Linked DNA regions of Homo sapiens: all the other regions are linked to region 7. Evidence: promoter capture Hi-C in 16 types of primary human blood cells and fetal thymus (Javierre and others, 2016). All regions are on one chromosome and are shown on one strand. Each heading gives the region's core, a stretch centred on a gene start or on the middle of the fragment in contact. The rest is flanking DNA. Distances are from core to core; before and after follow the strand shown.

Evidence for each region. Contacts are between HindIII fragments. The CHiCAGO score rates a contact against its expected background, and 5 or more counts as called.
Region 1: a contact is called between a fragment that was not itself captured here and the fragment with the promoter of FOSL2 in region 7, in 1 of 17 cell types (M1 macrophages). The highest score is 5.4, in M1 macrophages.
Region 2: a contact is called between a fragment that was not itself captured here and the fragment with the promoter of FOSL2 in region 7, in 1 of 17 cell types (endothelial precursors). The highest score is 5.6, in endothelial precursors.
Region 3: a contact is called between a fragment that was not itself captured here and the fragment with the promoter of FOSL2 in region 7, in 1 of 17 cell types (M0 macrophages). The highest score is 5.4, in M0 macrophages.
Region 4: a contact is called between a fragment that was not itself captured here and the fragment with the promoter of FOSL2 in region 7, in 4 of 17 cell types (monocytes, M1 macrophages, M2 macrophages and 1 more). The highest score is 8.2, in monocytes.
Region 5: a contact is called between a fragment that was not itself captured here and the fragment with the promoter of FOSL2 in region 7, in 5 of 17 cell types (endothelial precursors, M0 macrophages, M1 macrophages and 2 more). The highest score is 10.1, in endothelial precursors.
Region 6: a fragment that was not itself captured here is called in contact with the fragment with the promoter of FOSL2 in region 7 in 15 of 17 cell types (M2 macrophages, M0 macrophages, activated CD4 T cells and 12 more); the score reaches 16.4 in M2 macrophages.

Annotation. Positions count from the first base shown.
Region 1 is chr2:27,685,177-27,688,919 of GRCh38, forward strand. SLC4A1AP (solute carrier family 4 member 1 adaptor protein) reads left to right here. Exons shown (of 14, transcript NM_018158.3): 10 at 1-101; 11 at 2,758-2,844; 12 at 3,524-3,591. Among named protein-coding and RNA genes, the nearest start is that of SLC4A1AP, 23 kb to the left of the region's middle. The HindIII fragment of the contact is 8,277 bases long and covers 1-3,743 here.
Region 2 is chr2:27,847,334-27,851,497 of GRCh38, forward strand. RBKS (ribokinase) reads right to left here. Exons shown (of 8, transcript NM_022128.3): 3 at 701-764. Among named protein-coding and RNA genes, the nearest start is that of RBKS, 41 kb to the right of the region's middle. The HindIII fragment of the contact is 3,931 bases long and covers 171-4,101 here.
Region 3 is chr2:27,665,858-27,669,777 of GRCh38, forward strand. SLC4A1AP (solute carrier family 4 member 1 adaptor protein) reads left to right here. Exons shown (of 14, transcript NM_018158.3): 3 at 1,411-1,533; 4 at 2,986-3,046; 5 at 3,391-3,530. Among named protein-coding and RNA genes, the nearest start is that of SLC4A1AP, 3.9 kb to the left of the region's middle. The HindIII fragment of the contact is 2,905 bases long and covers 579-3,483 here.
Region 4 is chr2:27,827,062-27,831,078 of GRCh38, forward strand. RBKS (ribokinase) reads right to left here. Exons shown (of 8, transcript NM_022128.3): 7 at 506-694. Among named protein-coding and RNA genes, the nearest start is that of MRPL33, 57 kb to the left of the region's middle. The HindIII fragment of the contact is 3,134 bases long and covers 71-3,204 here.
Region 5 is chr2:27,786,714-27,790,392 of GRCh38, forward strand. All of the region lies in intron 7 of RBKS (ribokinase), which reads right to left. Among named protein-coding and RNA genes, the nearest start is that of MRPL33, 17 kb to the left of the region's middle. The HindIII fragment of the contact is 757 bases long and covers 1,928-2,684 here.
Region 6 is chr2:27,767,535-27,771,403 of GRCh38, forward strand. No RefSeq gene overlaps it. Among named protein-coding and RNA genes, the nearest start is that of MRPL33, 2.2 kb to the right of the region's middle. RefSeq lists a silencer at 214-414 and an enhancer at 3,827-3,869. The HindIII fragment of the contact is 1,694 bases long and covers 633-2,326 here.
Region 7 is chr2:28,391,284-28,395,346 of GRCh38, forward strand. It overlaps FOSL2 (FOS like 2, AP-1 transcription factor subunit), which reads left to right and starts at 1,575. Exons shown (of 4, transcript NM_005253.4): 1 at 1,575-2,539. The coding sequence starts at 2,438. It overlaps FOSL2-AS1 (FOSL2 antisense RNA 1), which reads right to left and starts at 3,389. Exons shown (of 2, transcript NR_103831.1): 1 at 3,265-3,389. RefSeq lists silencers at 792-1,911, 2,398-2,574 and enhancers at 1,605-2,536, 2,692-3,192, 3,193-3,693. The HindIII fragment of the contact is 9,962 bases long and covers 8-4,063 here.

The sequences.
Region 1 (3,743 bases), core at 1-2,500, 710 kb before region 7:
AAGCCTCAGTAGGCCACAGCCAGAGATAGAGCCAGAAGCAGCAGTGCAGGAAATGAGGCCTCCCACAGATCTCACACATTTTAAAGAAACCCAAACCCATGGTAATATCTTTCTTCTCCTTCCTGTGTTGTTCAGTGGGCAGTTACATTGATTGTGGATAGGTTTTAAAAAGCAAGGCCAGTTCTTGTCTGTGCATTTGACTTTGTATGTGATATACTGACTCTGTAGCAAGGAAACATACTTTCTTGGTCTTCTTCCTTTGACCGCCAGTCATTATTTGTCTTCATTGCAAATTAAGGGCAGTTATTTCCAATCCATTCCAGAATTACAGAAAATTGAAGGCTATGGAATCTGAAACCATAGCTGCTGTGGAATAATCCTGAGCTGCTGCCACTGTGTGAGTTGGAGGGCAGTGGAACAGGGTACATGATGGGGCCTGATCAGGTGGTCTCCGGATAAGTCAACCCCTATTCATTTTTTCCTCCATCCCTAAAACAGAGGCCAAACCATAATTGTACTCATTGGACTAAAGTTCTCAAGAAGGATCTTGCTTCATTCATTTTTGTGTGTTTGGAACCTAGCACAAAACCTGACACATATCCACCCGCCTCAGCAAATATTTGATGAAAAATGTTGAAAGACGGAATAGATTGATATTCATATAGATATATGCATCAATTAATTCTGTATTTTCTATATATATATTCTAATTACAAAGGGTTATATGTTCATTTTAGAAACTATAGATCATACATAAAAGTCCAAAGGAAAAAAAAGAAATCCCCACAACCCCACCCCTAAAGATCATTGTTTATCTTTTTAGTATCCTTTCATCCCTTGTCAACTGCAGGGGTTATTTTCCTGCTGGTTGGCCAAACTGGTTAGGAAGATAAAGATCTCAGAAAATAAGGAGTATGAGGAGAAACAATAAAAACTGGCACTGAATGTATGGGAATGCATGCATGTCTACTTCCACAACAAACCAGGCTTGGCTACATAAAAACTCCAGGCCTGGTATGTAGCCCTTCTCTTGAATCACCTTCATTTGTCTGGGAAACAGAAAAGTTACTGTTTCCTCATCTGTGAGAGGTAAGTATTCTGTATCTGCATTTGTCCTTTTCAAAAAGGTACTTACATGAGCTTGGTCTTTGGGCCATATATTGTGAAGGTGGATATAAACAGGTCAGCAGGAGGGGAGCAATAAGTATCATAATTTTTTTGTTTAACAGACCAAAGTAAGTATGTGTGTGTAAAAATAGCTTAGATTTTGAAACTTGGTTTATAAGATTAAATAATTAGTAAATTTGGCCAGGCACAGTGGCTCACGCCTGTAATCCCAGCACTTTGGGAGGCCGAGGCGGATGGATCACCTGAGGTCAGGAGTTCGAGACCAGGCTGGCCAATGTGGTGAGACCCCGTCTCTACTAAAAATACAGAAAAAATTAGTTGGGCGTGATGGTGCATGCTTGTAATCACAGGTACTCAGGAGGGCTCTGAGCAGGCAGGAGAATTGCTTGAACCCGGGAGACAGAAGTTGCAGTGAATTGAGATCATGCCACTGCTCTCCAGCCTGGGTGATAGAGTGAGACTGTTTCAAAAACAAAACAAAACAAAATTAAATAATTAGTAAATTTGCAGTGATGAGGGATTACCCCAGGCCTTTTTTCCTGTGGTTTGTTTTTATTTTTACTTTAATATTTACTTTTATTGAGACAGAGTCTTACTTTGTTACCCAGGTTGGAGTACTGTGGTGTGATCTTGGCTCTCTGAAGCCTTGACCTCCCAAGGCACATGCTTGTAGAGAAAATAGAGTCATAGGGTCTCCCTATGTTGCTCAAGCTGGTCTCAAACTCCTGGCCTCAAGCAATCCTCTCACCTCAGCCTCCCAAAGTGCTGGGATTATAGGCGTAAGCCACCATGCCCAGTTTATATATTGCTATTTTATAACCTAGTTTTTTTTTTCCTATGCCTTAGACTATTCTTTTTAAAATGTGGTTTCAGAGAAGGAGCATAGTGGTTCATCACATGCATATGCCATAATGTATTTAGTCAACTCTCAATTGTTGAACATGTAGGTTATTTCTTAATTTTTGCTATTACAAACATATATATAACAAATTTTGGGGCTAGGCTGGGTGACTCACACCTGTAATCCCAACATTTTGGGAGGCCGAAGTAGGAGAATGACTTGAGCCCAGGAGTTTGAAACCAGCCTGGACAAGATAGTGAAACTCTATCTCTACAAAAAATTAAAAAAAAAAAATATTGGCCAGGCATGGTGGTACATGCCTGTAGTCCTAGCTACTCTGCAGGCTGAGGCAGGAGGATCTCTGTAGCCCAGGAATTCAAGGCAGCAGTGAGCTATGATTGCCCCACTGCACTCCAGCTTGGGCAACAGAGAAAAACCCTGTTTCTAAAATAATAATAAATTTTGGTGGTCATCTCTGATTTTTAAAAAAATATGTTCTGGGAGTAGAATTTCTAGGCCAAGGAGTATGTACATTTTTGAGGCTTTTAGTAAGTATTGCTAAAAAGTTTTACCTCAATGTTGGCTAGTGTTTTAAGTGGAAAATTGGCAGTTTTCTGTAATACATTTGAAACATATTTATTTAAAACCTTAAGATTAGTTGAAGCTGATGATAATAAAACTGGATGATTATGTACTTAGCTTCTCTTTCTCTTGTTTTTGTTTTTGTTTGTTTGGCTTTCCACCATGAATTAAATCATGACAATATGATTTGATATTGCTTTTTATAGAAAACATGTCTCAACTTAGCGAGGAAGAACAGAATAAAGATTATCAAGACTGTAGCAAAACCACTTCATTGTGCGCAGGACCCTCAGGCAAGTAGTACGGCAGCCTTCATTGCTGCTCTGCACACAGGTGGCTGACTGGTTTCATAAGGGAGGGGCTGGCAGCTGACCTGAAGGCAGCACAGAGAATGGTCCTTTAGTTATGTTGCCACTAGGCCCCTGGACAAAGTTGGAACATAAGAGAGGTTTGTATTTGGTGCCATCCCATTTGCCTTTCTTTTACTCCTCTTCCACCTTCTGGGGTTCCCTCTCCCTCCCCCACAAAGCACCTAATGCCTTGATACTTCCCTCTGGCTGTGCAAAGCTCTCCACAATTTTACATCTCCCAAAGTCAAATATGTACCTATTATGGGAGTAATTCCAAAACTATCTTAAAAGAAATTGTTAAAAGGACTGCTTTACTCTGGTTTTACCTGTAATGGTTAAACTGTGGACTAGTAAAATCAGCCTCATTTTTTTTAAACTTGTTCGCATAATGTGGTTATATTCAAACTTGTAGAACAGCCTTAGGATTTAAAAACTAGGGTTATTCATCCAGGAAAAATTTTCTCTTGATATAGTTTTTACAGCAGTAGAAGGAATTGTTGAGAATTGCATTGTCATGAGCATCTTTTCTTCAATAATTGTAATGTTCTTTTAGGAAGAATTTTGCCTTTTTATTTTACTTATACTGAAAATAGCTATTGCCAGTTTTTTTTTCTTAAATTAGCATCAAAGAATGAATATGAGAAAAGCAGAGGTGAATTGAAGAAAAAGAAAACACCTGGTCCAGGCAAAGTAAGTATTTCACTTGTCTGGGAGTAAAAATGAATCCCTTTGTCATGGACCACATCCAGAAAAGTGAATCTTTGGAGACTGACTTAACAGAGTTCCCAGCAGCCTTATTCCCCTCTCCTAGAAATCTAGATTCTTTGATTTTTGTTTTTGAA
Region 2 (4,164 bases), core at 886-3,385, 540 kb before region 7:
CACCAAACTGCTCCTACTTTCGATTCCCCCCAATTATTCATAATTGTATACATATGCATTTTTCTAGACCAACACACTTATGTTCTTCATTGAAAGGAATGTCAGAGTTGAGATAAAAAGTAAAGGTCAAATCTATAAAATGAACTTGTTTGATTATTTTCATTCTCATAAGCTTGTTATTTCACCAAGAACCAAGGTCTGGCATATAAACAGAAATGTTGACCAGGCAGCCTTTGGTAGCAGCAAAGAGCCCTGAACTGGAATCAGAAGATCTTCATTCTAGTCCTGGCTCTAGCTCCAACCAACTGTGTGCTCTTGCAGAAATCACAGAACATCTCTGACCTTCGGTTTTCTCTTCTGTGAAATAATGGTTTCAGCCTGTATGGCTTCTAATGATTGTTGCCAGCTATAACATTCTTAAAACATCTTTTGTGAATGCAGCACCTTTTTCTCCTTGTCATTTGTCACATGTTCATGAGATGAAGGTTTGTAACCTCCTATCATTTTATTCCCATCTGGAGGAATGTACAGGGAAGAATCAACCCAAGGACATTTAAGCAAGAATGGACAAAGCTGTGCATAGAAATTCTCTGGCCACCAGGGGAAGGTCTAATAATCCTCCTCTAGATTCAATTTTTCTCATAACAAAATCACAGAAAAAAGCTATAAACACTAACTTTAAAAAAGGTGGGAATTTTACCTGTAGAAATATCATTCTGTTTTAAGTTTTCTATATAATCATTGCCAAAAGAATCTTTGCCAACCTGTACCAAAGAAATAATGAATATTAGATCTTTTAGAGTTAGTAAAATGCTACAATGTAGTTTTTAGAATACTTAGCATTTTAAAAGGGCATATCTGCACAGTACTTTATAAACATTAACTAATTAATCTTCTTAATATAAGATGCTAGACTTGATTGCAGCCCAAAGAATTGTTATATAATGTTTCACTTATATCCTACTTAAAATGTGAAGTATTTAATGAACATCACTCATTAAGTCATTCTCATTTTGAGCTGTTCATGTGATAATTCCCACTGAGATAGAGTTATCTACCATCATCAATCCTCAATATTTATGAAGAATCTCAGCTGTTTGTACTTCACTGTAAATATGGGTATCTTTGTCATGACTTGCCTGATGTTCCAGAATCTTTTTATCTTCTCCCTTGACACTGACACATAGAGGCAAAGAGAAGGAAATTTTAAAGGCCCTAGCTAACTTGGGTAACTTGGTATAATGGAATTGTGTTTTTGCATCCTAGCATCTATTCTGTTAAAGGTATTTCAGTTTTTCCTTTGGACACCTATTTCTGTCCCATTCTATAGACAACAAGATTAGGTTGGCCAAGGGACCCAGGCCTGATTAAAAAGCATGTTCCTTGTAGTCCCAGCTACTCGGGAGGCTGAAGCAGGAGAATTGCTTGAACCCGGAGGTGGAGGTTGCAGTGAGCCGAGGTCACACCACTGCACTATAGTCTGGGTGACAGAGTGAGACTGTCTCAAAAAAAAAAAAAAAAAAGTGTGTTCCACCATCCTAGTCACAGTGATGGGTTCATGAATGAGCATGTGACCTAAACTAGTCCAATAAGACTCAGTCCTGGGACTTTTACTGAAACTACCAGGGAAGACAAGTTTTCTTCCCAGTAAGATTGCTGGCTATAAGAGAATGTAAGCCTGCAGCCACTGGGGCTCACCATGTGGAGACAGCTAGAAAGAAAAGAGAGAAACATAACAGAAAGCAGGAGGGTGACAGACACAAACAGACACAGACTCCTAATAGCCTAATGGAACCCTAAGTCATCTGAAGCCAGCTCTACCACTGGGCTTTTCAGTTACATGAGGCAATACATTCTTTTTAAAAATTTTATTTTATTTTTTTTTGCTTAAGCTATTTTGAATTGGGTGTCTATTGTCTGTTATTAACAAAGTCCTGACTAGCTTCAGGCTGGGTGCGGTGGCTCATGCCTGTAATCCCAACACTTTGGGAGGTCAAGGCGGATGGATCACCTGAGGTCAGGAGTTCGAGGCCAGCCTGGTCAACATGGTAAAACCCCATCTCTACTGAAAATACAAAAATCAGCCGGGTGTGGTGGCGCACGCCTGTAGTCCCAGTTACTTGAGAGGCTGAGGTAGAACTGCTTAAACCCAGGAGGCGGAGGTTGCAGTAAGCTGAGATTGTGCCACTGCACTCCAGCCTGGGCGACAGAGCAAGACTCTGTCTCAAAAAAAAAAAAAAAAAAAAAAAAAAAGAAAAAGAAAAAAAGAAAAAAAAGAAAAGAAAAAGCTAGTTAGCCTAGTGCCTAGTGTAACCCTGAACCACTGAACTATAATTTAAGTAGCTTTGTCTGTGACTGGATCCTGTGACCACATTCTTGCTTTGTGGTCCACTTTGGTAACTGGATCTCCCCTGTTTTTGTCAGCATGAGTGTGTATCCTAATCATCTGGTTAGCCCTCTAGCTCTTTCAGAACAGGCACTCTTCTCTGCCTGGCCAGCCATTTGCAGGGGCCAGGCCTTTAGGTCTGTGGCTCAAAACCAGAAAACTATGATTGCAAGGCCTTTGATACTAATGCTGGCATCTTATCGACATCTCCCTACTGTCCGTTTCTGGCCTCCGTGGTGCTGCAATCACTGTGCTAGTCAGGACACCCTTGTTATCTTCTCCCATACCCCTCTAATGCTAACCATTTGTCTGACTGCTACCTTGGCTGGACCTTGGCTTGAACTCTACAGTTGAATCTACAGCAGAGGTTGTAAATTGGTGGGCTGAAAGTTCAATCTGACTGCTAGATATGTTTTGTTTGCCCTACTACTGTTTTCTAAAAACTAGACTTTATTTTAAAAACAGTTTTAGGTTCTCAGCCTAAGAGAGTAGAAAGTACAGAGTTCCCATATACTCTCTGTCTCCTCCGGCAACTAGTATCCCCCACTATTAACATCCTGCAACTAAGTGGTACTTTGTTACAACTGATAAACCTACATGACATATCATTATCACTCAAACTCCATAGTTTACATTAGGGTTCACCCTTGGTGTCGGATATTCTATAGGGTTTAACAAATGTAAAATGTCATATACCCACCATTATAGTACTATACACAATAGTTTCACTACCCTAAAAATCCTCTATGCTTTGTATATTCATCCTTCTCTCCCCACTAGCCTCTGGCAACCACTAATCTTTTGTCTCCATAGTTTTGCCTTTTCCAGAATATCATACAGTTGTAATTACACAGTATGCAGCCTTTTCAGATTGACTTCTTTTACTTAGTAATATGCAACTAAAGTTCCTCTGTGTCTTTTTATGCCTTGATAGCTAATTTCTTTTTAGGGCTGAATGATATTCCATTGTCTCGATGTACCAGAGTTTATTTATCCATTTATCTACTAAAGGATGTCTTCCAAGTTTGGGAAATTATGAATAAAGCTGCTATAAATATCTGTGTGCAGGTTTTGGTGTAAATGCCCTGCTATTTTTATCAGTTCTCAATACTTAAATATTAGAAGACTTCACAAAAACAGACAGATGTCCAGGGGGTTCTGAAAATTCAGAGGTTCTGGTAACACTGGGTCCACATTCCTGCAAGGCAAACCACCTGGAACTGAGAGGTGAGTGCCTTAAAGTGCTCATAGACTCTTGGCTTCACCTAGCCTACTGCAATTTCTGTTACCTGCTTGGCTCCTGTAGGCCTTTAGTCTTGCTACCTCTGAACTATACTTCTGAACTGAACTTCTATTTTTCTGTCCTGCAGGTGAGCATTACTTCAATGGACTATGTCTCAATCCAGGTTTCAGTCACTCCTGGTGTGTTCTATTCTTCCACAGAAAATTGTTCCTTTCTGGATATATCAATAGAAAGAAACCTGTCTGTTTCCTTACCATCATTTCTGAGAACTTAGAAGTCCTTTGCCCTCTCTCCTCCACTAAATCAAACCTCACCTGTTTTTCAAGTATCAGCTTAAGGTCTACCTTCCCTACTCTGGCCCTTGTTAATCCTCTCATCTCCACACCTCCTATGACATTCCTAATCAAGCCCATAGTTCAATACCATCTTATATTGTTGGCGATTTCATATTTGTTAGTCTAGTCTTCTTAAAAGCTTACTGGAGATTCTTTAGGATTTGATCACATTAGTTGTCCTTCTGTTCATTTTCCTTGGA
Region 3 (3,920 bases), core at 781-3,280, 720 kb before region 7:
AAGATAGGAAAAATTATGAAATTACTTGTGCTAAGTGCCAAACAAAAGCTAGAAACCATAAGTATGCTAGAGTGAAAGTTTGGAGAAGAGAGAACAGTCACTGGGGACTTAGACCTGTGTTGTCTGATATGGTAGCCACTAGCCACATGTGGTTACTGAGCACTTGCAGTGTGGCTAGTTGCAATTGATGTGTGCTGTAAATGCAAAATACACACTGAATTTCAAAGACTTAGTCTGAAAAAAAGAATGTAAAATATCTCTTTCATGATATTTTTATATTGATGACATGTTGAAATGACAATAATTTTACCTGTTTCCTTTTAATTTTTTAATGTGGCTAATAGAAAATTTAAGATGACGCATACAGCTGTCATTATATTTCTGTTGGACAGCACTGACTTAGATCTTTGGGAAACTTAATTTTTTTTATTTTAGTAGAGATGGGGTTTCACCATATTGGCCAGGCTGGTCTTGAACTCCTGACCTTGTGATCCACCCCCCACCCCCCCCCCCCACCCCGCCCCCCGGCCTCCCAAAGTGTAGAGATTACAGGCGTGAGCGATCGCACTCCACAGGGAAGCTTTATGAGCATAAGGATTTTGAGCTGGAACTTGAAGGAAAGGAAAAGCCTTATGAAGCTGAGTATTGGGATTGGTATTCAGGGTAGGAATTGATGATTTTAAGGAAGTTGTGAGTAGACCAGTCTATTTGGCAGATATAAGAAGTATTAGGAAATTATATTGGGAACGAAAGTTAGATATGAGTGTGAGAGAACAAGAATGCCAGGCTGAGGAGCTCAAATTTTTTTTCCACAATGTGGTAGGTAATTTTACTTTTAAAATATAATGATGGAGAAAAAAAAATTAAGGTGCCATGAAAACAAGTTTTGACTTGTCACACAATTTAGAAAACCTGAATATGCTCATACTAGTGGTTTTGTGGTGGTTGTTCCACCCCCTGTCCCTGCAAGTATTTATTATTTTTCATCACAGATAAACTATATATATATATATATTTTTTTTTTTTTGGGAGACGGTCTCACTGTGTTGCTTGGGTTGGAGTGCAGGTAGCGCGATCTTGGCTCACTACAACTTCTTCCTCCCAGGTTCAAGCAATTCTCCTGCCTCAGCCTCCCAAGTAGCTGGGATTACAGACACCCGCCACTGTGCCCAGCTAATTTTTTTTGTATTTTTAGTAGAGATGGGGTTTCACCATGTTGGCCAAGCTGGTCTTGAACTCCTGACCTTGTGATCCACCTGCCTTGGCCTCCCAAAGTGCTGGGATTACAGGCATGAGCCACTGCGCCCAGCCTAAACTATATCTTTATGCAGCCTGAGAGAATAGTGGGTATCATTCAAATAGTCTCTTCTCATGTCTGATTATCTTTTCTTTCTTTTCCATATCCTGTAGGAGAAGATGCAGTAGAGGATGATGCTGAAGAGAACCCTATTGTCTTAGAGTTTCAGCAGGAAAGGGAGGCCTTTTATATAAAGGATCCCAAAAAGGCTCTCCAAGGCTTTTTTGACCGAGAAGGTATGTAAACAGATTCTGACCCTACCACTAAAACATATCCAGAGCAGTGTGGTTTTCTAGAGCTTCATGTTGAGCTTTATACTAAGATATGCTATAATTTTATTGCTGTCCTTCTTGTTCACTTTTTACTCTTGTGGTCAGTTGCTTTAGGTTTATTTTGAAAATTATTCCTCATTAGTATGGCAGAGGGGAAAAAAATCATAAAAATCTTGTTAGTCTTTCTTCTTATCTTAAAAAAAGGAAGTACTTTTTCCTGACTCATCTCATTCTTCTCAAAAGATCCTGGACTTTGGTGGTGGGGAAATTGAGCCAACTTCCTGTAGTTTTTTAATTCCGAATTCACCTGATCTTTTGTAATTCCTAACATAGGTTTTGATTTTATATTATATGATTTAAAATTTTTTTTCCATAGAGGATTGTTTTGGTAGGAATACTTTGAGAGAATATCTATGTATATGTATGTATATCTGTATATATTTTATATGTATATATAAATAATATATGAAATAGCTGTGCACTTAATATCTGTGCTTCTAAAAACCAGGCAACTGTGTTAAAATAACCACTAAAGTCTACAACTTATAAAAGTGAAACATACTATACAGTGAACAGAGCTATGTATGGAGAATTGGTTACTTTGATCTGAGTTTGTTTTTTTCTCTGCCTCAGACTTACTCTAATTTTATTATCAGACAATAATCCCTAGGAATGAGAAGTGAAATGCATTGAAATTTATTATTCAGTGTGGTATGGGAACTTGTTCTTTTTTTTTTTTTGAGACGGAGTCTCGCTCTGTTGCCCAGGCTGGAGTGCAGTGGTGCGATCTCGCCTCACTGCAAGCTCCGCCTTCCGGATTCACGCCATTCTCCTGCGTCAGCCTCCCGAGTAGCTGGGACTACAGGCGCCCGCCACCACGCCCGGCTAATTTTTTTTGTATTTTTAGTAGAGACGGGGTTTCACTGTGTTAGCCAGAATGGTCTCGATCTCCTGACCTCGTGATCCTCCCATCTCGGCCATCCAAAGTGCTGGGATTACAAGCGTGAGCCACCGCGCCCAGCCAGAACTTGTTCTTTTTTTGAGACAGGGTCTCACTCTGTCGCCCAGGCCGGAGTGCAATGGCGCAATCTTGGCTCACTGCAACCTTGACCTCCTGGGTTTAAGCTATGCTCCGGCCTTAGCCCCCGTAGTAGCTGGGACAAAAGTCACGTACCATCATGCCCGGCTAATTTCTGTATTTTTTGTACAGATGGGGTTTTGCCATGTTGCACAGACTGGTTTCGCGCTCCTTAACTCAAGCTGTCATCCCGCCTCAGCCTCCCAAAGTGTTAGGATTACAGGCGTGAGCCACTGCTAGGAACTTGTTCGTATTTAACGTTTGTTCTCATTTATCATTGTATCAACTAGTAATTTTTGGATTCTATTAAAATTGTTTTGTCTGTCTTTCTCCCACAGGAGAAGAATTAGAATATGAATTTGATGAACAGGGACATAGCACTTGGCTCTGCAGGGTGAGGTATGCTCTTTTCTTATTAATGTTCTTTTCTGGAAAATGGCCAATTTCAGGTTTAATGTATGGTTATAGATAACAACCCAAAGAGTAACTTTCATCTAAGTTTAAGCTATTTCTAAATTTGAGCCTTTATCGTTTAGTAACCCTTATATTATTGGAGAGTGGGGTGGGATGGGTAAGAAATAGAAAGAAAATATTTTAAATCCAACATTGGAAAGATAGAACAAGATGGATTCAAAGACTGAAAGGCCATCTAAAAAAAAAATGACTATTATCATAGCATAGTAGTTGTTTTCTTGAGAATTGGAGCTTAATGCTGTGCTATAATTCCCACCAAATCAATGAAGATTACCTGTGGACGATTCAACTGGAAAACAACTGGTGGCTGAGGCCATTCACTCAGGAAAGAAAAAAGAAGCAATGATCCAGTGCTCATTGGAAGCTTGTCGGATTCTTGACACTTTGGGATTGCTTCGGCAGGAAGCAGGTCAGTATATAGGAGCCCTTTTTTTCTAGATTTAAAAAAAGGAAAACTCAACACAAACGCTAATAAAACTTCTTTATGGGGGGAAAATGTAAATTGTACAAAATTTTTTGAAGTGAAAAGAGAAAAATTCTCAATACCCTAAGGTAGCCACTGTTTATATTCTCCCAGACATTTTCTATGCATATATAGATGTGTGCTGAGACCTAGATCCTTTAACAAAAAACACTCATACACAAATGTAGTCATATTAATTACAATCTTTTGTGACTTACTTTTTTAACATAAGAATGTATCATGGATGTTGTTATTATTATTATTTTTGAGATGGAGTCTCACTCTGTCACCCAGGCTGGAGTGCAGCAGCATGATCTCGGCTCACTGCAACTTCCG
Region 4 (4,017 bases), core at 388-2,887, 560 kb before region 7:
TGCTAGAATTTGTTGGTTAAAAGAATGATCTCTGCTAACCAGTGCTCCTTGCTGTTCATTTCACTGGAGAAGCTTGTAAGACACAGCTACTTGTTCACTGCCTAGAATCTAAGCCCGACAAGGGCAGAGACTTTGCCTTATTTATTGCTATATCCCCAGCAACTATCATATGACTGGGACATGATAGGTATTCCACAAATCCCTATTTGTTGATGAATGACTGGATAAATGAATGAATACAGGTAACACAGGTATAATTTTACTGCTATTCTGATTTTATGAATGAGGAAACTACGTCTCAGAGAGGTCAAGCTGCTTGCATAAAGTCCCACAGAGAGTTAGAGAGGGATTAAAATACAGTTCCCCTGCCTGGTTGTTCTTCTCTTTTACCATATCACTTACTAGGGCTTTGTTTCATTATCCAAAAATTCAGGTACAGCATCTAATTAGTTACTAAGTAACAATTTTCAAAGGCTAAACATGATTCTTAAATTTTAAAACTTACCGTGGTATCCACAGCCTTGACTTTCTCTGTGGGAATGTGCTTTGGCTCAGGTTCTGTCTGTGACAGCACCACACATCCTTCAGCCCCTAAGGTAATGATTACCACCTGGCAGCCCCTTTTCAAGAGCACTAATGCAGCCTCCCCAGCATCTGCAGCGCTGCCCACCGTGAGGCCAGTTAAAATCTCAGCCTAGAATACACAAAAGTCAACAGAAACAGTGGTGAAAATAAGTAACCTGAATCCACTTCCAGATGCGTTTTTCTAGAAAATGTCTCCCTTCTTTTTTATAACAACCAATGCAATGGGAACCTTGATAGATACTGGTACAGGAAAATAAATAAAGCAATAACAGTGATGACAAAAACCATCAATGAAAGACATTCTGGGGACAACTGGGGAAATTTGAATGTGGCTTGGATATTAGATGATAGCATGGAATTACTGACAATCTTCCTAGGTGTGATAATGGTATTGTGTTTCCTCTTAGGAGATGTATGCCGAAGTATTTGGGGTGAGGCATCATGTTGTCTGCAACTTATTCTCAACAACAAAATACTTTTTTTTCCACTTACTTTTCAACAAAAACAAAACTAAATACATACAGGGAAGAGGAAAAGCAAATACAGCAAAATGTTAGCAAATGTTTAGGTGAAATGTAGAGTGTTCATTCAGCTTTTCTGCACATATAATAATTTTAACAAAGAGTTGGGGCAACAAAGAGAAGTCTACCAAAAAAAAAAGAAAAAGGAAGGTTGGAGGGGAGGCAGGAAAGGAGAAAGGAAAGGGCCACTGCCAAGAATTTTAGCATAAATTGCACCTGTAAGTTTGGCACCTAAGGACATAATTCTTCCAAGCCTCTCTTGGGCCATAATGCCTCTTCTCAAATTTCCAGTTTTTGCTTTCCATGTTTGCAGACTACTTATTTCTTTTGTTTGTTTTTGCCAGAGAAGATGGAAGCAGATTAGGAGAGGTAATGACAGGTAGCAGAAAACGCAATGCCCTGGCATTCAGGAGGCCTCTCCTACTCATTCAGTCTGTGACCTTCCCCACACCAATTACAATCTGTAAAATCAGGGGGCTTTCAACAAGATCCATATTTTTCTCCCAATTTCTCTTTCAATATACTAATTTTTCATTCCATTCTAATGTTTATTTTTCTACTGAGTGATTTAAAAACATTTCCATGACTTTTTAGGTTTTCAAGACTTCTAATTGGTTGTTTTTCATATTCACATGTTGTTGCTTTGATTCTGTTTTTCTTTCACAAAATTTTTTCTTCTTTCATAATGAATGTTAATCTTAATTATACTATTTAAAGTATTTTTTGCATTGTTTATTTATTTAGAGATAGTATCTTGCTCTATTACTCCAGCTGGAGTGCTGTGGCATGATCATAGCTCACTACAGCCTCAAACTCTTAAGCTCAAGCAATCCTTTTGCCTCAGCCTCCCAAATACTGGGACTCCAGGCATGCACCACCACACACAGCTAATCTTTTATTTTTGTAGAGACAGGATGAAGTCTCATTATGTTCCGCAGGCTGGTCTCAAACTCCTGGGTTCATGTGATTCAACTGCTTTGGCCTCCCAAAGCACTGGGATTACAGGTATGAGCCACCACGCCTGGCTGAATTTTATTATATGAATTTCATCTTGGGCAAATTCATCTGTAGGTTGTTGATTGTGCTGGGTGAATTTTGTAGCATTATGTTTTTCATTTGCAGGCTCACTTTACTTACTGTGAGTTGGAAAGCTGTCACACATCAGTTCCCACCTGGTTGATCCCTGCTTTTCAGTGTTTTTTTTTTTTTTTTTTTTTTGAGACAAGAGTCTTGCTCTGTCACCCAGGCTGAAGTGCAGTGGGGAGATCTCGGCTCACTGCAACCTGTGCCTCCCAGGTTCACACGATTCTCCTGCTTCAGCCTCCTGAGTAGCTGGGACTACAGGTGCATGCCACCACACCTGGCTAATTTTTGTATTTTTAGTAGAGATGGGTTTTCACCATGTTGACCAGGATGGTCTCGATCTCCTGACCTCGTGATCCACCTGCCTTGGCCTCCCAAAGTGCTGGGATTACAGGCGTGAGCCACCACGCCCAGCCCTCAGTGGTTTTACAGTAGCTTCCCCCAGGTACACAAGAGTCTCTAAACCAAAACCAGGTATTATATTGGCAATAGGGAGTTCTTGCTCTGCTGTTTCTGGGGCTACTGCCAGTCCAGTCACTAAGTCAGTGGTTGGCTTGGTTTACTTCTTGGTCAGAGGCTGTGTCTCTGTCCTGCTAACTCCTCAGTTTGGGGGCCTTAAATATGCTTCAGGCAGCAGGGGTAGCAGGTTCCTCCCCCTTTCACTGTTAGCAGGGGAGCCACAGCCTAGCATGTATGGTTTCCATCTGTGGGCTCGGCTCCAGTCCGCTATAAATGGCACACTTTTAGTATCCATGACCCACAGCGGGTGAACTTCCTGCCACTTCTGCCTGTTTCTGGGGCTAGTGTACAGCCAGCATATCAAGGGCTGAATGCTCTGTGAGGCTGTTCCATTTCTGATCTGTGGAGTTATTTATCTTGTTTTAGAGCTTGTAAGTATCTTTTCATTGTGTCCATTAGTATTTACATATCAGTGGTTTGTGTTTGGAGCAGAGTGAGTATCATAAGCATGAATTTACATTATTGCTGTGATTAGAGTTCATCTATAAGAACATTAAGCTTTTTTTTTTTGAGACAGAGTCTCCCTGTAGCCCAGGCTGGAGTGCAGCCGCCTGATCTTGGCTCACTGCAACCTCCACCTCCCAGGTCCTGGTTCAAGCAATTCTCCTGCCTCAGCCTCCTGAGTAGCTGGGCTTACAGGCACGTGCCACCATGCCCAGCTAATTTTTGTATTTTTAGTAGAGACGGGGTTTCACCATGTTGGCCAGGCTGGTCTTGAACTCCTGACCTCATGATCTGCCCACCTTGGCCTCCCAAAGTGCTGGGATTACAGGCGTTAGCCACCGCGCCTGGCTCCAGAACATTAAGCTTTTAATGTTTTTCTTTCTTCCATTAAGTTTCTGAGACCAGTTTCCTTAAAGACCAGAGTTCTTTCATTTATTTATTTCATAAGCATTTACTAAGTGCCAGCTATGTGCAGGTACAGTGTAGCAGATGTTATTTTCCAAAGATAACTGTATTAACCTATATCATATCACACATCCTGGTTTTACACTGTGCCAATGACAATCTTCTAGTAAGGGGTGGGGTACTAGGGTGGACCTTCCTGCTTAAATCAATAGAATGAGTCAGAAGTGATGCCGTGTTACTTCCGAAGCTAACTCATAAAAGCCAACATGGCTTCTGTGTCTCCTTCTCACGGGAAGCTGGATCTTGAAACCCAGCTACCATATTATGAGGAAGCCCAAGTCACACGTAGAGGCCATGTTTACATGTTCTGGCCAACAACCTCATTATGCCCCCAGCTGAAAGCCAGCATCAACTGTCAAGCAGGTGAATGAAGAAAAGTTCCAGCTCTCAGCCTTTGCGT
Region 5 (3,679 bases), core at 1,056-3,555, 600 kb before region 7:
GAGGTTGCAGTGAGCCAAGACCGTGCCACTGCACTCTCGCCTGGGCGACAGAGTGAGACTGTCTCAAAAAAAAAAAAAAAAAGAAAGAAAGTTTAAAAAATATTGTACCCACACCTGAAAACACTCTTAAAATCACTTAAATTCCCTTCCACTACAGCCAAGGCCAGGGAAACACAGGGCTTGGTGGAACTGTGTGTGCTGGAAGCATTATTTAGGCAGCAACGATTCTCACAACTTGATTACCCTTCATTCTCAGGGCTACAACATGTGTTGCTTTTTTCTTTCTTTCTTTTGAGATACGGTCTTGCTCTGTCACCCAGGATGGAGCGCAGTAGTATAATCATAGCTCACTGATGCCTTTGTCTCCCAGACTCAAGCAATCCTTCCACCTCAGCCTCCTGAGTAGCTGGGACCACAGGTGTGCACCACCACACCCAGCTAATCTTTTTATATTTTGTAGAGATGAGGTTGGCCAGGCACGGCGGCTCACGTCTGTAATCCCAGCACACTGGGAGCAAGACCAGCCTGGGCAACGTCGTGAAGCCCTGTCTCTACAAAAAACATAAAAATTAGCTGGGCACTGTGGTGTGTGCTTGTAGTCCTAGCTACCTGGGAGGCTGAGGCAGGAGGATCACCTGAGCCCAGGGATGTCAAGCCCGCAGTGAGCCGTGATCATGTCACTGCACTCCAGCCTGGGCGAAAGAGTGAGATCCTGTCCAAACAAACAAATAAAACAAATAAATAGCCAGGGTCTTCCCATGGTCTCAAACTCCTGGGCTCAAGGGATCCTCCCGCCTTGGCCTCCCAAAGTGCTGGGATTACAGGTACGAGCCACTGTGCCTGGCCTACACACTGTGTTGATAGGGAATAGAAGATAAGTCCTTCCTATATTAAAAATAAGGGGTTCCCAACAAAGAAAACTCTAGACTAGATGGCTTCGCTGGATAATCCTTGCAAACATTTAAGTGAGAAGTAATCCTAATTCTACACAAATTCTTTAAGAAAATAGCAGAGCCAAGGAAACACTATAATGCTAGTGTCACCATGATACCAAAACCAGACAATGACATTGCAAGAAAACAAGATCAATACCCTTTGTGAATATAGATGTAAAAACCTTAACTTTTTAAAGCAAATTAAATAAATATATGTGTGTGTATATATATATATAAAATATCTGATAATGCATCATGACCAAGTAGAATTTATCCCAGGAATGCAAGATTGGTTTAACATTTTAAAAAATCAGTGTAATTCAGTAATATTAAAAACCTTATGATTATATCAACAGGAGCTGAAAAAGCATATGACAAAATTCTACATTCATTCATGATAAAAGTTCAGCAAATTTAGAAATAAGGTGTAACTTGATCTTCTTGATAAAGAGCATTTATGAAAAATCTACAGCTAACATCATACTCAACCAGAAAGACTGAATGCTTCCTCCCTAATATTGGGAACAATCAAAGATGTCTGTTCTCACTACTTCTACTCAACATTGTACTGGATTGCCTAGCCAGTGCAAAAGGACAGGGGAAAAAAAAGAAAGAAAAGGCATACAGATTGAAAAGGAAGAAGTAAAACACTTTTTCTTTGTAGATGACATAATGACCTACGTAGAAAATCCTAAGAAGTCCAGCCAAAAAGCTACTAGAAATAGTAGGTTTAGCAAGGTAACGGGACACAAGGTCACTATAAAAAACCAACTGCAGCCAGGCGCGGTGGCTCACGCCTGTAATCCCAGCACTTTCGGAGGCCGAGACGGGTGGATAACAAGGTCAGGAGATCGAGACCATCCTGGCTAACATGGTGAAACCCCGTCTCTACTAAAAATACAAGAAAAATTAGCTGGGCATGGTGGCAGGCACCTGTAGTCCCAGCTACTCGGGAGGCTGAGGCAGGTGAATGGTGTGAACCTGGGAGGTGAAGCTTGCAGTGAGCCAAGATCGCATCACTGCACTCCAGCCTGGGTAACAGAGCGAAAAAAACCAATTCTATTTCTATATGTTAGCAATGAACAAGAACTCAAAGTTATCAAAACATTTGCAACAGCATTTTAAAAATGAAGTATTTAAGGCTAAATTTAACTGAATATGTGTAAGATCTATCCACTCTTGCTATGGAAAGTAAAAGAAAAATTAAAGAAAAACAAATGGTGAGAGTTTCAAGGACTGGAAAACTCAATATTCTTAAGATATAAATTCTCCCCAAATTGATCTATAGATTAATGCAATTCCAATAAAAATCCCAGCTGCCAACTATTGTAAATTAATAAACTGATTTTAAAATGTATATGTAAATGGAAATGACCTAGAATAGCCAAAACAGTTTTGAAAAAGAACAAAGTTTCCAGGCTTACCATAAGCTACAGTAATTAGACAGAGAGATACTGACATAAGGATAGACACGTAGCTCACTTGATAACTTGATAGAAGAGTCCAGATACAGACCCACAAATATATGGTCAACTTATTTCCAACAAAGGTATAGGTTGAGTATCCCTTATCTGAAATACATGGGACCAGAGATGTTTTGGATTTCAGATCTTTTTTTTTGGATTTTTGGAATATTTGCATTATACTCACTGGTTGAATATCTCTTATCCACAAATTTGAAATCCAATATACTCCAATGAACATTTCTTTTGAGGATCAGGTCGGCACTAAAAAAATTTCAGATTTTGAAGCTTTTTTTTTTTTTTTTTGAGATAGGTCTCACTCTGTTGCCCAGGCTGGAGTGTGGTGGCATGATCTTGGCTCACTGTAACCTCCGCCTCCTGGGTTCAAGCAATCCTCCCACTTCAGCCTCCCAAGTAGCTGGGAGTATAGATGTGTGCCACCACACCTGGCCTTTTTAAAAAATTTTTTTTGAGTCAGAGTCTCACTCTGTAGCCCAGTTTGGAGTGCAATGGTGCTGTCTTGACTCACTGTAACTTCCGCCTCCTAGGTTCAAGCAATTCTCCTGCCTTAGCCTCCCAAGTAGCTGGGATTACAGGCATCTGCCACCACGCCTGGCTAATTTTTGTATTTTTAGTAGAGATGAGATTTCACCATATTGGCCAGCCTGATCTCGAGCTCCTGACCTCGTGATCCACCCGCCACGCCCTCCCAAAGTGCTGGGATTACAGGCGTGAACCACCATGCCTGGCCAGCTGATGTGTGTGTGTGTGTGTGTGTGTGTGTATAGAGTGTGTGTGTGTGTGTTTGTGTGTGTATATATATATATATGTATATGTGTATATATATATATATATATATATGTATATATATATGTAGAGAGAGAGAGAGAGAGAGAGAGAGAGAGATGTGGTTTCACCATGTTGCCCAGGCTGGTCTTGAACTCCTAGGCTCAAGGGATCTACCTGCCTTGGCCTCTTGAAGTGCTGAGATTACAAGTGTGATTACAGGGATGACACTGCACCTGGCCCATGATTTTGAAGCATTTTGGATTGCAGATTTTGGATTAGGGAAACGCAACCTGTACCCAGTAATTCAATGGAGGAAAGGGCAGTCTTTTAAACAAATGGTTCTGGGACAAATGGATATCCATATGTAAGAACACAAACCCTTACCTCACACCATAGACAACAATTAACTCAAAATGGGTCACAAACCTAAATGTAAGAGTTGAAACAACAAACTTCTAGAAGAAGACAGGAGAAAAGCTGTAACCTTGTGCT
Region 6 (3,869 bases), core at 230-2,729, 620 kb before region 7:
AACTTGCCAATTGTTAAGGAAACACCAAATACATGTGTTAACTAAATAAATAGGCATGAGCATGCAGATCAAGAAAAGTGTCTATTGTTCTCAAGGGGACCTTTGGGGGGCCTTTGGGTGGGATGGGAAAGTCACTGCCACTCTCCCAACTAAGTGGGAAAATGGCTGATTTCAGGTGCTGCCACTGCAGAAATCTTACTTAACTCTTGAGCCTTCCTGCTGCCCACAGAACTAAGCCTGACTCCCAGCTAGAACACTGGTTCTTTCATTGCCTAGCCCCAGCCATCCTTTCTAGCTCACCTCCCTCACTTCACCCCACACTCTAGCCCCAAGAGGATGCTCAATGTGCATTTTTTAGATGCCTTTTTTTTAGGTGCCTTCCCCCAGTTCCTTCCACTCTGCCTGTCTCAGGTTGACTTGGGAGGAAGTGGGACTGAAGGGAGAGAAAATAACTCAAGGCACAGTCCCTTAGTAGAGAAGGTTCGGTCTGTATTTGTCAAAAACGTGAGTGGGATAGCAACCTTCCGTTAGTGCTCCTGCTTGGGGGAGTGGGGGAGATTCAGAAGACCTGGTCCTTGAGGGACTTAGGTCCCATAATAGGAGGCAGACCTGTGATCCAAGGCATGCAGGGAAGCTTAATGGATGCTCTGAGAGGAATCTGTGGAGGGAAGATGTGGGGTGGAATGGGGAATGCAGGGTGAGGAAAGGCTTCATCCCTAAAGAGATTGGCACCCAGCAGCCTCAGTGAAGAGAGATGGGACTGAATTAGGAGGGTGAGGCCAGATGATAGAGGCCATTGAATGCCAACTGGAGGACACCCACTACACACAGGTTGAACCCAGTTGGTGGCCCCAGCTTCACTCGTCTTGCTCCCTCAGGTAGTCTTTGCTATAATGCTAAGCCATTGAGTCTGAGGGCCTGATTTTGAAGCTGTCCCATCTGCCTGTGGTGTCTGAGCTTGTAAAGGTACCAGCTCTTTTCAGGAAGCCCCAGCTTTCTCCTGTAGCGTCTTTCTCCTTCCACTGCCCATGTTCCCAGGCCCCTGGGACAGGTCAGGGAGCCAGGATCACTGATTCTGTAGGCAAGAACAGTGGCTGTACTTCCCAATCACAAGTCAAGCAAGATGTAGGTGTGACAATGGGCTGGATGATGGGCAGCCAGGGGTCTGCCAGCACAGCAGAGGAGGAGGGGTACAGCTTCTAGATCCTCGGGTTTGAATCCCATCACTAAGTGCTGGGAATACAGTGTCTACCAACCCAATACAGATGCTGTGTATGGAGCCCTGACCCAGAGCAGATGTTCTCTTCCTCTATCTGCTTCTCCGGGCTGAGAATCTAGGTTAAACAGCTTGATCTTCTCCTCCCTGTAGCACCCCACCTCCCAAAGAGGGTGCCCCTTCTCTAAGGACTACACTTTTTCCATTTGGGCTGCCAGGATGCTCTAATTGTTATGCACTTTCCTCTAATAAGGCATAGAGGGCTCATTATGTAAATTCAAGGAAAAAAGCCCCAAATCATGAATTACATCTGTATTATAATAAACATTTTAATTAACACTTACCAACTGCCAGCTATATTAGGTATAAATAACAGGTGGATGCAACATGAACTCCTGAGGCTAGAGAGTCACTGCCTCCAGCCTACTCCTTCAAGAATTTCAAGAAATAGTTCATATGCTATCTCTTTTCTTCCTCTCCCCTCTCCCCTCTCCTCTCTTGACATGGAGACTCCCTCTGTTGCCCACGCTGGGGTGCAGTGCTGCTACCTTGGCTCAATGCAACCTCTGCCTCCCAGGTTCAAGCAATTCTCCTGCCTCTGCATCCTGAGTAGCTGGAATTACAGGCGCCCACATCTGGCTAATTTTTTTTTTTAAGTTATTTTTGAGACGGAGTCTTGCTCAGTCGCCCAGCCTGGAGTGCAGTGGTGCGATCTTGGCTCACTGCAGGCTACACCTCCCAGGTTCACGCCATTCTCCTGCCTCAGCCTCCCGAGTAGCTGGGACTACAGGCACCCGCCACCACACCCGGCTAATTTTTTTTTTTTTTTTTTTTTGTATTTTTAGTAGAGATGGGGTTTCACCATGTTAGCCAGGATGGTCTCAATTTCCTGACCTCGTGATTCACCTGCCTCGGCCTCCCAAAGTGCTGGGATTACAGGTGTGAGCCACCGCGCCCGGCCAGTTGTGTTATTTTTTAGTAGAGATGGGGTTTCGCCATGTTGGCCAGGCTGGTCTCAAACTCCTGACCTCAGGTGATCTACCCTCGTCGGCCTCCCAAAATACTGGGATTGCAGGAGTGACCCACTGCACCTGGCTCTTTTCAAAAGCAAGCTTATACATTCTCCTGGATCCTGAAACTATTGACAATACTTAAAGTTAGTTTTTTTTTTTTTGCTATTTAAACATAAATATTGACATTTGTATGGTGCCTCTCACCTCAGATTCATTCATTCAATAGATATTTAATAGATGTAGCAGGCATTGTTGTAGGAACCAGGGATACAGCAGTGAGGGAATAAGCTGAAGTTCTTTTTTTTAATTAAAAAAATTTTTTTAGAGACAGGGTTTTGCTGTTGCCCAGCATTCTGGTAGCCAAAGACAATAGGGAAATCAACAAGTACACAAGTAATACTATTAATGGCAATAAGTGCTGTAGGAAAACATAAAGAAGAGTAAGGAGAATAGAGTTGGGGGCAGGGGCATGGAGTTTAAGAACTGCTATTTGGCTGGGCTAAAGTTAAAGTGACTTTCTAAGGGACAGAACAAGGACTAGAAATCATGTTCCTTGGCTTCCAGTCTTGTGTTTTCTTATAAATCCTCTAAAGGAAATATAAGAAACCTTATCCTCTTGAACATCTGAAGCTCTTTTTTGCCAATGCAAGGTAAGGAAGGATTTCGGCACCTGGAAGGTACTCAGTAGCTGGAGTCCGGTTATGGGAAGATAAATATCAAGAATGATTAGAAGGAAAAAAAGTATTATAGGTACTAAGGAGAAGGACGGTCTTAATTTAAAAAATTGAATTGTATTGTATGGAGAGCTGATTTTTTTCCTCCTCATCTTCTTTGTGATGGCACAGAGAGCTGAATTTTCTTTAAAACAGTTTTATTACTTTTTTTTTTTTTTTTTTTTGAGACGGAGTCTCACTTTGTCGCCCAGGCTGGAGTGCAGTGGCGCTATCTCGGCTCACTGCAACCTCCGCCTCCCGGGTTCAGCTAATTTTTGTATTTTTAGTACAGGCGGGATTCCGCGACGTTGGCCAGGCTGGTCTCAAACTCGTGACCTCAAGTGATCTGCCTGCCTCAGCCTCCCAAAGGGCTGGGATTACAGGCGTGAGCCATGCGATTAAATCTTATTTCACATCTGTAAGACTTCATATGTAGATACAAATCACGGATTAGGAAAAAAATCCAAAAGTCCTGATTATTAGTTGCGAAATGAGGTTACTGACGAGGTCCTTGGTGTTAGAGGAGCCCAGGTTCCTTACAGAGCCATGAAAAATTAATGATTGCAAACTGGTAGGTCCCAATGTCTACTGGGAAAGGCATGAGTCTTTGGAGTCAGATAAAATCTAGGTTTAAATTCTTACTCTGCCACCTGGTAGTTCTGTGATATTAGGCACGTGATGTGAATGCTCTCAATCTGTTATTTGGCTTCTATGTCAGGAACTGTGCTAGGTGTTTGGATACAGAAGTTTGAGATGCAAAGGGTCCTGCCCTCCTAGAGATTGGGATAACTAAGGAAAGGTGGGGTTCTTAATGCCGAAGGGACTCAGAAGAGTGAGAGTAAGGCTTAACCAGGCGGAGAGGGAGTTGGGTCGGGGGAGGCAACATTTTAAGAAAATATGCGAGGGGCTGATACGCTGGAGCGGCCG
Region 7 (4,063 bases), core at 325-2,824:
CCAGGAAAGCTTCGCGTTCCCGGCTCTATTTTTCTCTGCTACCAACACCCCCACTTTGCAGATAAGGAAACTGAGGACAGAAGTTGTGTGACGGTGCACAGCGAGTTGTCAGCAATGGACTCTCAACACCTCTTAACATTGGGTCCTCATAAGGACCCTGTGGGGTACAGATGGCTGGCGCTACTTAAGAATTGGGTAAACTGAGGCTAACACAGACCCTGGACCAAAACCTAAGTTCCCTGACTTCCGCTACAGTACTTCTCCATTCACACACACCATCATCTCAGCGGAAGGATTGGAGCTCCAGAGCAGAGAAGGGCCTAAGGTCATGTCTCCAAACTCCTTCACTTTATAGGAGGAAACTGAGGCCCAGAGAGGTTAAGGAATTCGTCCAAGATCTCACAGCTCGTAAATAGCGTAGCCGGGCGTTCCTGCTCTAAGGTCTGTGCTCTGTACCCTGCGCCGCGCCCCTCCCAGCCCCGCCCAGCGAGGGAGGAGGACCCAAATGTCCGGCAACCCGCGCCCTGAACTTCGCTCCAAAACAGCTGAAGACGACAACGTTGGGGCACACCCTCTCGCTGGCTTTTTTTTTTTTTTTTTAATTCGTAACAGTCTGGAGTTTGCTTATAAACGCCCGATTACTCTTATTAGATGCGTCCTAATTGCCCGGCGTATAGGGCGGCCGGAATGTCTTGACTGGTTAATTTCATCTTCAAGGCTACTCCTAACGAATTAACTGTAGGACCGAAAACATGAAAAACAAAAAACAAAAAGGGAACCGGTAGGCAGACCGCCACGGAGGGAAAAATAGGCAGGCCAGCCCCGCCCGGCGCCGTGCCCCGCCAACACCCGGCCGCAGGGCGGCGCGGGCACCCTGCGCGCCCGGGGCGCCCGCTGCACTCGGCGGCGCCGCGGAGGGCGCCTACGACCGCGCGCAGCCGCGCCCTCCCTGCGAGCGGCTCTGCGCGCCCGGCTCCCGGCCTCCCGGTGGCGCCGCACCGAACCGCCCGTCTCGCCGTCAGGGCTGTGATTATTTTCTAAAATCCGGAGGCGAGACCCGCGCGGCCGCTCTCGGGGCCCCGCCCCGAGCCCCTTCCCAGGGCGGGGGAGAGGCCGCAGCGCACTCGGGAGCGGGCGAGGGAATCCCTCTCCCTCCACGTCACCCGAAAGCGAGGAAACCCGCACTCGCGTCCTCTAACGCAAATGACCATCTTTGGCAACGTGCGCCAATGGAACAGACCAAGGGCGCTGGGCCCGGGGGGTGAGCGGGGGACTGGGGAGGGCCGGGGCTGCCTCGGCGCCTCCGAACCGTGCGTGGCGCCCGCTCCCGCCCGTGCCACCGCCTGGCTTCCTCGCGCGGGGTGCGCGGTTGGCGTCAGCGCGGCCGGGAGCCGGGGCTGGGAGGGGAGAGCTGCGCCCGCCTCCTCCCCTCCCGCGCCTCTTCCTCCTCCGCGGCCTCCTCCCCCCGCCTCCTCGTGCGCTCCTCCCTGCAAGGTGGAGTCTGGGGTTGACGTGAGTGAATCCACATGGTACAGGGCTGGAGAATAAAGAGTGTGAGTTGAACTCGTGCCATTGTAGTGACTCATCTCGGGCAGAGCGCTAGGGCTCCGAGCGAACCAGCGAGCGAGCGAACGAGCGGCGCTCGGCGGGGACAGAAAGAGGGAGAGAGAGAGAGAGAGAGAGGGAGAGGCGCGGCCGGGCGAGGCGGGCCCGTCCGGGAGCGGGCTCCGGGGAAGGGGTGCGGGTCTGGGCGCCGGAGCGGGGAGCGGGGCCGCGTCCCTCTCAGCGCCAGCTCTACTTGAGCCCCACGAGCCGCTGTCCCCCTGGCGCGCTCGGGGCCGCGGGACGGGCGCACGCCGCCTTCTCCTAGTCAAGTATCCGAGCCGCCCCGAAACTCGGGCGGCGAGTCGGCCACGGGAAGTTTATTCTCCGGCTCCTTTTCTAAAAGGAAGAAACAGAAGTTTCTCCCAGCGGACAGCTTTTCTTTCCGCCTTTTTGGCCCTGTCTGAAATCGGGGGTCCCCAGGGCTGGCAGGCCAGGCTCGCTGGGCTCCTAATCTTTTTTTTAATTTCCAATTTTTGATTGGGCCGTGGGTCCCCGCTGAGCTCCGGCTGCGCGCGGGGGCGGGAGGGCGCGCGCAGGGGAGGGACCGAGAGACGCGCCGACTTTTTAGAGGGAGGGATCGGGTGGACAACTGGTCCCGCGGCGCTCGCAGAGCCGGAAAGAAGTGCTGTAAGGGACGCTCGGGGGACGCTGTTCCTGAGGTGTCGCCGCCTCCCTGTCCTCGCCCTCCGCGGTGGGGGAGAAACCCAGGAGCGAAGCCCAGAGCCCGCGGCGCGGCCGGCGGACGAACGAGCGCGCAGCAGCCGGTGCGCGGCCGCGGCGAGGGCGGGGGAAGAAAAACACCCTGTTTCCTCTCCGGCCCCCACCGCGGATCATGTACCAGGATTATCCCGGGAACTTTGACACCTCGTCCCGGGGCAGCAGCGGCTCTCCTGCGCACGCCGAGTCCTACTCCAGCGGCGGCGGCGGCCAGCAGGTAGGTGCGGGCCCCGGTGCACCTGGCGGCGCGGGCGGACCCCTGCCCTCTTCTCGCCGCCACTGCCTCTTTTGCTTTCTTTTCTTTTTCTTGGCGAGAAAATACCTACGGGCCACCGTTGTAAGTTCTGGATTTTCGTCCTCCCCTTCCCCCCCACCCCCTTTTAAACTAGGGGATTGGAGAGTGGGCTTGAAGAGACAACATGCCCTTTTCCTCTCACGTTATATTTTACCCAGATAGACTCCTGGAATTGTAGGCCCCCTACCAGGAGCCTGTTACCTCCTTCCAAGAACTACTCCCCCTCCCCAGTGTCTGCCCCCCCCCCCCCACCCCTGCCCCGCGTCTTCTCTCTGGGTGGTGGACAGACAAGAAAATCTTTGCACCCACTGGCACCTCTCGACATCCTGGGACCCTATTCCTTCAGGAAAGCCCTCTCTCTCTCCTCCCCGTTCTCCATCAGTCATAACTCCTTTCTGAAAGGGGTTGGGGACCCAGAAACATGGTTGGACTCCTTCAAGTAATCTGGAGCGAGGGCGAGGGCTGCCGCTCTGGGAATCAGGTGCGAAGGTCAGGAAGGAAGAAGCCAGCCTTGGTTGGCTCATGCCGCCTGTGTGCCCCCTGCCTGCCTGCCTGCCCCCCCGCCGACCCGTCTTCTGTAAGGATCACGGACAGGAGGCTGCACTGCCCCCCAGGAACGAAGGAGCACCTTGAGGGTCTGGGGGTACCTGGAGCAAGGAGACCGGCAGAGGGAAGAGGGGGTCGGGTGGGGGAAGAGACATCACGCAGGCTCCTGGGTGGTTCTGGAAGCAGAAAACAACTTGTTTCTAAAGCAGCCGGACTGGTTTGCACTGGAGGGATTGTGCGTGTGATCTCTGTGTTTATAAATACCAGGAAGGTGCTGTTGGCGGGGGGGTGCTGATGGCGTGTCTGCCCTCTGCTGCAGCTCCCCCACCCGCTCTGTCTCGAGAGAGAGCTGGGTTAACGCAGGCCCAATACAACATGAAGCCCACCGTGGTCAGCATCTGTGGAGTCTAGCATAGTTGGCTGCAGCAAGGGATGCTCATGCTCCATAAGGCGGTGGCCTTGGCCTCTAGAAGGGGCTAGGGTGGGCTTCCAGGGAGGGGTGGACTCAGCTGGAAAGAATTTTGGAACGTGGCTCTCTTTTGGATCTGATGGGGGGGTCCCTTGTTCCAAAGTGATTCCCTATACCTGGTGAGTCCCCAAAATGGCTTTTCTGTCTTCCCTCTGCCTCCCATGGTGCTCCTATAAGCACCCACAGTAGAGACAGCCTAGTCTGTTCATTGAGGGTGCAGTCAATGCACCCTTCGTAATGAGCACCAAGGTGATGAGTTTAAAATCCGAAAAGTTGTTGATTATGTTTGCTTCCCAGCCCCGCTAGTGGTTTGTGTTGAATGTAAACATAATGAGGGAATAGGTTGAAGTCTGTACCCACTCCCTCCGTCTCCCGTTCGACAAACCCCAAACGCCTGTCTGTCTCCTCCTCCCTGAAATCAGGAAGGGATC